Regions from separate parts of the Homo sapiens genome. Here all the other regions are linked to region 1. Evidence: promoter capture Hi-C in 16 types of primary human blood cells and fetal thymus (Javierre and others, 2016). All regions are on one chromosome and are shown on one strand. The core of a region is centred on a gene start or on the middle of the fragment in contact, and the rest is flanking DNA. Distances in the headings are between cores, read along the strand shown. Region 1 holds the start of NME5 (NME/NM23 family member 5). Region 2 has its middle 43 kb from the start of MIR874. Region 3 overlaps KLHL3 (kelch like family member 3).

Evidence for each region. The method cuts DNA at HindIII sites, captures the fragments that hold promoters and counts their contacts. A CHiCAGO score of 5 or more calls a contact.
Region 2: a contact is called between a fragment that was not itself captured here and the fragment with the promoter of NME5 in region 1, in 2 of 17 cell types (total CD4 T cells and non-activated CD4 T cells). The highest score is 5.1, in total CD4 T cells.
Region 3: a contact is called between a fragment that was not itself captured here and the fragment with the promoter of NME5 in region 1, in 6 of 17 cell types (naive CD8 T cells, total CD4 T cells, non-activated CD4 T cells and 3 more). The highest score is 10.6, in naive CD8 T cells.

What each region holds. Positions count from the first base shown.
Region 1 is chr5:138,138,089-138,140,800 of GRCh38, reverse strand. It overlaps NME5 (NME/NM23 family member 5), which reads left to right and starts at 1,373. Exons shown (of 6, transcript NM_003551.3): 1 at 1,373-1,430; 2 at 2,016-2,149. The coding sequence starts at 2,021. BRD8 (bromodomain containing 8) reads left to right here. Exons shown (of 27, transcript NM_139199.2): 26 at 1-96; 27 at 635-1,031. The coding sequence ends at 727. The HindIII fragment of the contact is 15,003 bases long and covers 1-2,712 here.
Region 2 is chr5:137,603,043-137,605,754 of GRCh38, reverse strand. No RefSeq gene overlaps it. Among named protein-coding and RNA genes, the nearest start is that of MIR874, 43 kb to the left of the region's middle. The HindIII fragment of the contact is 679 bases long and covers 1,042-1,720 here.
Region 3 is chr5:137,619,637-137,622,348 of GRCh38, reverse strand. It overlaps KLHL3 (kelch like family member 3), which reads left to right. Exons shown (of 15, transcript NM_017415.3): 15 at 223-2,712. The coding sequence ends at 251. Among named protein-coding and RNA genes, the nearest start is that of MIR874, 27 kb to the left of the region's middle. The HindIII fragment of the contact is 4,842 bases long and covers 1-2,712 here.

The DNA of each region.
Region 1 (2,712 bases), core at 124-2,623:
CTGATGTTCCAAAATGCTGTAATGTACAATGACTCTGATCATCATGTATACCATATGGCTGTGGAGATGCGGCAAGAAGTCCTGGAGCAGATTCAGGTACTGTATGCAGATACCTGTAGCCTCTGGAATCTTGATTTCAGAACGCCTATGAGAATAAAGGTGATTTCGAGGTGACTGTGTTCTCAGAGTTTATTTTTAAAGGTGATTAAGGCCCTGAAGGATTGATAATGTGCCTGCTGGTTTGGAAAACCCTGAGCCTCAGTAAGTCCAGCTCTGATAGTGAAGTAGTCTAGGAATGCAGGCAGCAGTGAAGAGCTCTCAAGAGAGCTGAGGATAGACAAGTAATGGGAATTCCCGCTTCCAGAGCCTCAAGTCAAGGGCTAAACTCCAAAGAGGCTGGAGTCACTGTGTATTTTTTGGTTGCTTCATCTGTTGTTATTAATGTACGTTCACACTTTCCCATCTTTAGGGGATAAGATATAGTAGCTAGAAGACATTTGTGGGTTTCTTTTCTGGGTAGCATCATACTTTAAAGAAAAAAGTATAGTTGAGTCTATTTGCCAAAAAAATAAACTTGCAATACTTTAGTGTTTAAGGTTCATAATAGCTTGCTATGTGTTCCTTAACCCTTTAGGTACTGAATATCTGGTTAGACAAAAGAAAAGGCTCAAGTAGTCTGGAAGGAGAACCAGCTAACCCAGTGGATGATGGAAAACCTGTTTTCTAACCTGGAGCTGCTATCCTGACTTTTTCTAGAGTTTGAATCTCTCCCGGAACTCTGACCTAGAGAGGATCCTGGTACTTCTTTGCCATGTCCTCATTTTCTTTTCCAACAAGAATAATACCTTAACTCACAACCAACGAGTCAAAGATGCATGTGGACATAATATAAAGAAAAAAAGGGGAAGCTGAGGTTTGGATTTATGCCATAAATGTTGCCCACATCTTTGTTCCATCGGCTTGATTTAAAGACAATTCCATTAGATCTTTTCTAAGCCTTTTACTCTATAAATAAATGTATTTACACAATAGGAATATTGCTTTTTAATGACTAGATAAGCTGGGCATAGAGGGCACAGCATCATCTGGTGAAACGAAGGTATCTGACACGGGTCATTTACATATACCGCCTGGAAAGGAATGGTTGGGGGAGGGGTTCTTATCATTTATAGAGTAGGGATAATTGAAGCATCCTTCAAACGGGAAGAAGGATGAAATAAGATAAATTATGAGTAAAATGTCAGAAAACATCTAGTGCTCTAAGATTCACAAGGAGAATAAAAGTGACTGGCTGGCTCCCTTTGGTTAAAACGAACTGGCCAGAAGCTGCAAGGTTCCTTGCTGGGATTGGCTCTCTGCAGCCACCGTCCCCACGCTGGGGCTTCAGGTCTCCTAGCAACAAGTTGTACCATATGAGGACGGCCGCTGAGGTGAGTACTTAGAGAGGGTCAAATTCAGAATTTGCAGGTGCAACCCGGAAAGTCCCCGCGGACCTAGAGGCCCTGCTTTTCAATTAGCCTGACCCTATGCACAGAGAGGTCCCTGCGGGACAGGGTCGCTTCACAGAGGCAGCTGGCCGAGGCCGCTCACCCGCCGCTGTAATGGTGTGTGGTTGCCCACCAGCCACCGTCCCCTCGAGCCCCCACCACCCGCTCTACCGCCCCCTCGAGCCCCCACCACCCGCCCCACCGCCCTCTGCTGCCTGGGGCTGTTGCTGGTTCCAGGCCTTCGGGTCGCCCCTTGGCCTCTGGTTATGTGAGCCCATAGTCCTTCCTGCCTTGGTGACATCGTATACGAAAAGCCGGGGCTCGATTTGGACATAGTAGGAATCCTATTATTGAGACCCTGTATATAGAAAAACATGGCAGTTTCTACCTTCATCAGTTAATAAAATCAAGTACCTACTATTGCTATTCTTAATCATAATTACATTGAATTTGCGATGGGGGTGGGGGGAAATGCATGTCATTGCAGTTGATACCTGTTAAGAAACTCTTAATTTGTGCCCTGAAAAGCCATAATGGAGATATCAATGCCTCCACCTCAGATATATGTAGAAAAAACTCTGGCCATTATCAAACCAGATATTGTTGACAAAGAGGAGGAGATACAAGATATTATTCTTAGATCCGGATTCACCATTGTTCAGGTAACTTCTGGGTATGATGATTCATGCTTTTTTCCTCTCTGCCCTTAAAAAAAAAATGCTTATGTAAATGTGCCTACCCATTTAAACCCTTAGTGTTCAGCATTAAATTTAAGTTTATTCTTCTAAGTATAAAAGTTATATGTGATAGTTTTTAAAAGGATGTAAAATGAGAAATAAAATGGACTTTTCCTTCACCTGTCCTCTTTTACCCCAAGTCCCAGGCTCCAGAGAGAGGCAACCACTTAACACTTTCTGTTCTTCCAGGAGTTTTCTATGCATTTATAAACATTTTCCCCCCATAAAACAGAACAGTCCCTTTCCCTTGACCCCTTTACAGAGTCCCTCAGATAGGATTCCAGATCATTGCATCTGAATTGATCTCACTCTTCCTAATTTCTGTGTAATATTTCCCTGTGTATTAGAACTACAATTTATTTACTTGATCTTCTATTGATGGAATTTTAGGCTATTGGTACTTTTTTCAGTTATGGCATAACATTTAATGTTTTAAGCCTTATGTTCTGCAATTAGTAAACATTGTCATTCTAGGGGTTTGAAAGTGA
Region 2 (2,712 bases), core at 132-2,631, 540 kb after region 1:
CATTAAGCCATCTGTGCCCCTCGAGCTGTCTTCCTCCTTTATTTCCAGATCTTAGGGACATACTAGAAGCTTTTTTGCCTTCCTGTGAAGAGGATCTCAAAGATTTTCACAGTCAGTTCTGCCCTGTAGCACAGGAAAATACCTTACTTGCACACCAGAGGCCCCTGTTTGATTTAGAAGTACAAATAGCTTAACAGCTACCAGCTCTCGAATTTCTTCCGTGTGCCAGGCACTCCCCTGAATAATTTATCTGCACCAGCTCACTTACTCTTCATAACAGTCCTGAGCACCTGGCATTAGCATCCCCATAGTGCTCATGATGAAATGGCTCAGAATGGTCAAGTAACTTGCCCAAAATTGCATGCTAGTAAAAAACGGAGGTAGGATTGGAATCCAGGTCTGTGTGGCATCAAAACCTTGATTAATCCTCTCCTTGGTCTCTCCCTCAGGGGATGTGATGCTCTTTGTTTTGGGGCTTATAGGCTCCTCTGCCTTTTTCCTGCTTTCTCCCTATGTTTTACTTGCACTAAATCAAATGCTTTTCCATCTCAATCCCAATCTCTCTTCAGCACCCTCCACGCCCCCCACCTGCTGCCCGCCTCTGCTAGTCTGCAAAGGCTAGGCATGTCTTAGGTAGGAACAACATATTTCATCCCAGGCACGCAGCTTAAAACGCAGGAGTCGTGGAGCAGATAAATTTGCCTGAGAAGTAAGCAAATGTCCCTTCTGGAGAGCAGAATTTGAAAGAGGCAGGGAGCTCAGCAGAGCAGGGGAGGAATGGGCATGGGAGAGCTGGGATCTGCAAAGTCACTAACCTCACCAGCTTCAGGCCTTAGACTGAGAGATTTATTCATTGTTTACCCACCGGGCTCTGGGTATCCCTTGACGACTAAGACCTGCCTCTAGGAGTCACATGCAGAGTGGGGAGAAAGTCAGGTACACACGGAAGCCTGCAGCTGCTGGAGAGTGCGGAGCTGGCATGTGAGGAAAGAGACTTCTCTTTGGGGCTGCATCCTTTTGGTGCCGGGTCATACTGAAGCTTCAGGTCATACTCTGCATCTTTTCTCACTGCTCTCTGTTTGGCTAGTTGCAAAGACCAACACCCCCTTCCCCTATCCCTTTTGAGGCTCAGATAAATTATTAAATATCAGGTAGTAAGTGCTACTCACTGCCTGGTTAGAAGCTGCCCATCACAACCCAAATCCTGCAAGCCAGGGAGTCTGTGTTCCTGATTTTTGGTTTAGAACCCACACTGAGCACTCCTGTTTGTTTTCTGTGTCTGCAGTGTCTTACTATTCATGGAAACATTTTACCTGAGGGTCTGGCCCTTGGGTGCCAATAGCTGTACTTTGGTTTCAACTGCTTTGGACGAAGAGGCATCACCTCATGTTGCTCCCAAAATCACTGTGATATGTCCCTGTGTTTTAGGTCGGACTATCTCAAATATATCCTTAAATATAAAGAAAAAATATCTCCAGCCTTTTCGCATGTTGTGCTGGGACAGAAATGTAATTTTCTTTGGAGGAACCTTGGTGATGATTTGCCCAAATCCCTGGCCTGGCAGAATTTGGTTCTGGAGGCATCCTGTCAGCTGTCTCTCTCCTTCCCCTGCAAGTTCCACCTCCTGCCTTTCTCTGCCTTCAGCCCTCTGGGATCCAACACACATAGATTTGCCTCTGGGTCTATTCCATGTGCAGACACCAAACCAAATGGGAAAGCTTCACCCCACCTAACTGGACCCTACTGGGGAAGAGAAATAAGTGCTGTTGTTTCTCATGATCCTGGTGATCTGATTCCCTTGAGGCCCCTGAGAGAGGTTGGTTTTGACTTCTTAGGTGTTGACCAGGCTCTTTCTGTTAATGTTAGACCTTGGGACTTAATATTAGCACATAATATTAGACCTAGGCCCTGGAGCAAATTGCTGTTTTTTTCTTGCTGGCTTGATTAGCATGTAATATTAGACCTGGGCCCATGTGTTCCATCCCGTTGGAGCACACTGTCTATGGGACTGGCAGCGGGGGCATCTGCCTTACTATCTGCCTCTCGTACAAACCCTGTGCTGACAATTCCAGCACTGTTTTTGTAGAAGCGCTGCCTCGAAATGGTAGGAGAGAGACAGAGTGCTCCCAAAGTCTCAGCATAATTTGGTTTTATTACAAGAGTTTTCATTTTGATGGCAACATTATTCTTTTCACAGAAGAAATTATCTTCAAATTATTTAATCTCACTCTTTTTTCTCTGGAGACACTTTGGGGTATATTGCTGCAGTCTTCGCAGATTGCTGGAAAGTAGCTAGCCTGTCTATCGTTTTAATCATTATCACAGGCCCACATTTGAAGGGGAAGAAAGTCTCTTGTTACCACAGAGACATTTGGTCCCTGAAATAATCCTGAAATATCTGTGCTTTCCAGAGTAGAAGCATTTAGGATCTTTTATTTCTCCAAAGGAAAATATTAACAGCCTAGGAAGAGCTGAAGATTTCCGTCAAGGAAGGTTAGGAAGGAGATTGACTCCACCATCTTTCTGGGGTAATGTGTTACTGTGAGATGCAGATCCTGGGCAGAATATTCATTTTAATTTTGCTGTGGCCTGGAATCTAGGAAGCATTACAAAATCATCATAGTAGTTGTTGATAATAGTGAAGTAGCCAGATAAGCTGGCATCTGGAGAAGAAGGCCCCTTAGGGGTAAGTGGTAGGGCTCAATCTGATAT
Region 3 (2,712 bases), core at 110-2,609, 520 kb after region 1:
TTGAGGGACTGTGCTCGTAGGTTCAAGTGTCTTGCCAGGACTTGGCTGTTGGAGTGGGGAACAGCCAGCTGCTAGCAGCCTGAGTCCACTTCAATATTAGGATAAAAATTGCACACATTTCCCTTGGCTGTGACTCAGGATATCTTGGATTCATGAACTCACTGGGACTCTGAGTAATTTTGGAGAAGCTAAGATGATAACTTTCTCCCCCTTTCTTATTAGGTGTTGCCGTGATTCACAAGTCCTTGTGACCCAAACTCCTACTGCCAGGAGGTGGAGGAAGGAGCAGGTGCTGCCTGTGACTCTGAACAGCAGGACCTTGGTGACTGGATTCAACTTGCTTGGGAGGGTCTGTGCTGCTGTGAGAACCGCTCTCCTCTGACTTGGCAGACTGGTGTTGTTCATCGCAGTGTGGACACCATTACCCACCCCCGTTCCCCTGAGGTGCTCTGGCCTATGCCCTGAGCAAGGGGGGTCTTGACATCCCCAGGCAGCACCTTTGGGCTTTGTTTTGGTGTTTCTACAGGGACAATACAGACCCTGGAGTGTGTGTGTGTGTGTGTGTGTGTGTAGACCATGGTGTTTCTCTATGTTTCTCTAAGTTGGGGGGTGAGCGTGTGTGACAGTCTACTGGATTTCTTTACTACTGATCCTTTCGCTGTGTTAAAAATCAAGTCACAGAGACCTCTCTTCTGGATTTGTCCCATGGGGACCCTGAGACTACTAAAGCTGCTTTCTTCTGAAGGTCCAGTTGGACAGTCTGGGAATGTCCAGAAATAACCAGTGAGAGGGGCAGTTCTCTGGCCACACCCACTTATGTACTTTAACTACTGTGACTTTGTCTGCAGAAGAGCTGGAAAATTCTCGAAGCTGCACCGTGTCCTCTGTGTGCTAGAATAAGGGACAAATGGGTTCCCTGTGCTTCTCAGCTCACTGTTTTTCCTTGAGTTCTCCTACAGGAAGCAGATGAGAACTGCCCAGTCTTCAGGTTTAGGCCATTGGTCTTTGATGTCATAGATTCCAGGCCTGGGAGGTGTTATGTCTCTTCAGCTGGGAAAACTAGCTCTTCAGAGAAGCCTCGGGTAACACTGAAAAACAAAACAAAACAAAACAAAAACAGGAAAAAAACAAAAAACCAAAGTGGTAAGGATTCAGTTCCTGCCTATAATGGTCTCAGAGAGGGTCCTACTTTTAGGTTTTCCCAGGACAGGACAGTCCCCATTTATACTTATTATCCCAGTTTAATTATTCACAGCACCCCATTTTACTCAGAAGTGTTCTGGTCTGGAGGATAAATAAGAGGTCACCCTCCTCCAGACCCAAAGATAGATTTGTGCCTGTGTTGGATGGGGTCGTGTGTGATTCAGATGGACATTGGATGGCTTCAAAGGAATATACCACTAGAGCTGGCCCTTGGCACTTTGTGACAGTGGTCAAGTCTGTCTAATGTCCTTGTCTTCTTTTTCTTGTGCTTTCCCCCTATTCCAGGGTGTGCACCCTCTCCCCAACCCCCAAGAACCCCACTACTGCTTTCCCTGTGAGGTAGGAGATATCAGTGGGCCTTGGATTTGAGGCTTCCTAAGATGTGCTTGCATTTTAAAAAGGGAGCTTGGTGAGAGCTTTGCTAATTCACAGGTAAAAATTATTAACAATAGAACTTCAAGCATCTTGAGGAGCGGGCATTTGAGGGGGCATGGAGTAATTTGTATTTAAAAAACCTTAAAGTTGTGCTGTTCCTAAACTAGCAAATTGCTCATGCTGAAATTTCTGGCATAAGCAGGGGAAGTCTTGTGTCTGGAGAATAGTCTCATACCTTGCAGTCTGGGACACCCTCCCTACTTTGAGAATCCACCTACAGGAAGCCAAGGAACTTTATAAATCCTGATGTTGGACTTCTGATACGACTGGGCTACTTCCAAGCAGGTGCTGCAGGAGATTGGCATCCCCCAGCCCCTGCAGTTAGAAACCCCGAAGTCTTCCCAGCCAGTGAGCCACTTTGTGTATTTACTGTATATTTATTGTGCCCTAAATGTGCAACTCTCCTAAAGACAAAACTTCTCTTTCTGATGTTAAGCACATGTTACTTCAACAAGATGCTTGGAGAACAACAAGGTACCCAGAATTTTTAGAAGCCTTCAGAAGAGGCTAAAATATCCAGCTTTGGGGGACCTGGAAGAAATGTCTCCAAAGGAAGCAAGGCATGTTTTAGTTGAGTGCTCTGGTCTCACTATGAAGTGGGGATGACTGTGGCTTCATAACTCTACCTGGCTGTGGGTTGGAAGCTGATGGAATGAGAAATGTCCTTTCTCCTTCTCTGAGGAAATTTTGAGACTTGTTTCGGTGTGTCTGTGTGATGGGGATGAGGCTGGGGTTGGGATCTGATGTATGCCATTCACAGAAGCTCTCAATTTCAGATGATAGGTGAATTCCCTGCCCCTCCCCCACCACTGAGAAGCTAGACTTTCATGCGGGAGAGGCTACTTTTATGTGTCGTCTTCCGGGGAAGGGTCCCTCCACTGAAAGCTAGCCAGTCATGTTTTCTGTTTTTGGATTTTTGCAATTGGTTTCACCTCATGTCTCCCTCCCTACAAAGCACTGCCTCTACTGGGCGTGCTGCCAAGGCCATGTGCACTCCATCCTCATGTATCCTTTTTCACGGGGACCAGAACACTGGTACGTCATCACCAAAGCCAATCTGCTCTAGCTGCCCAC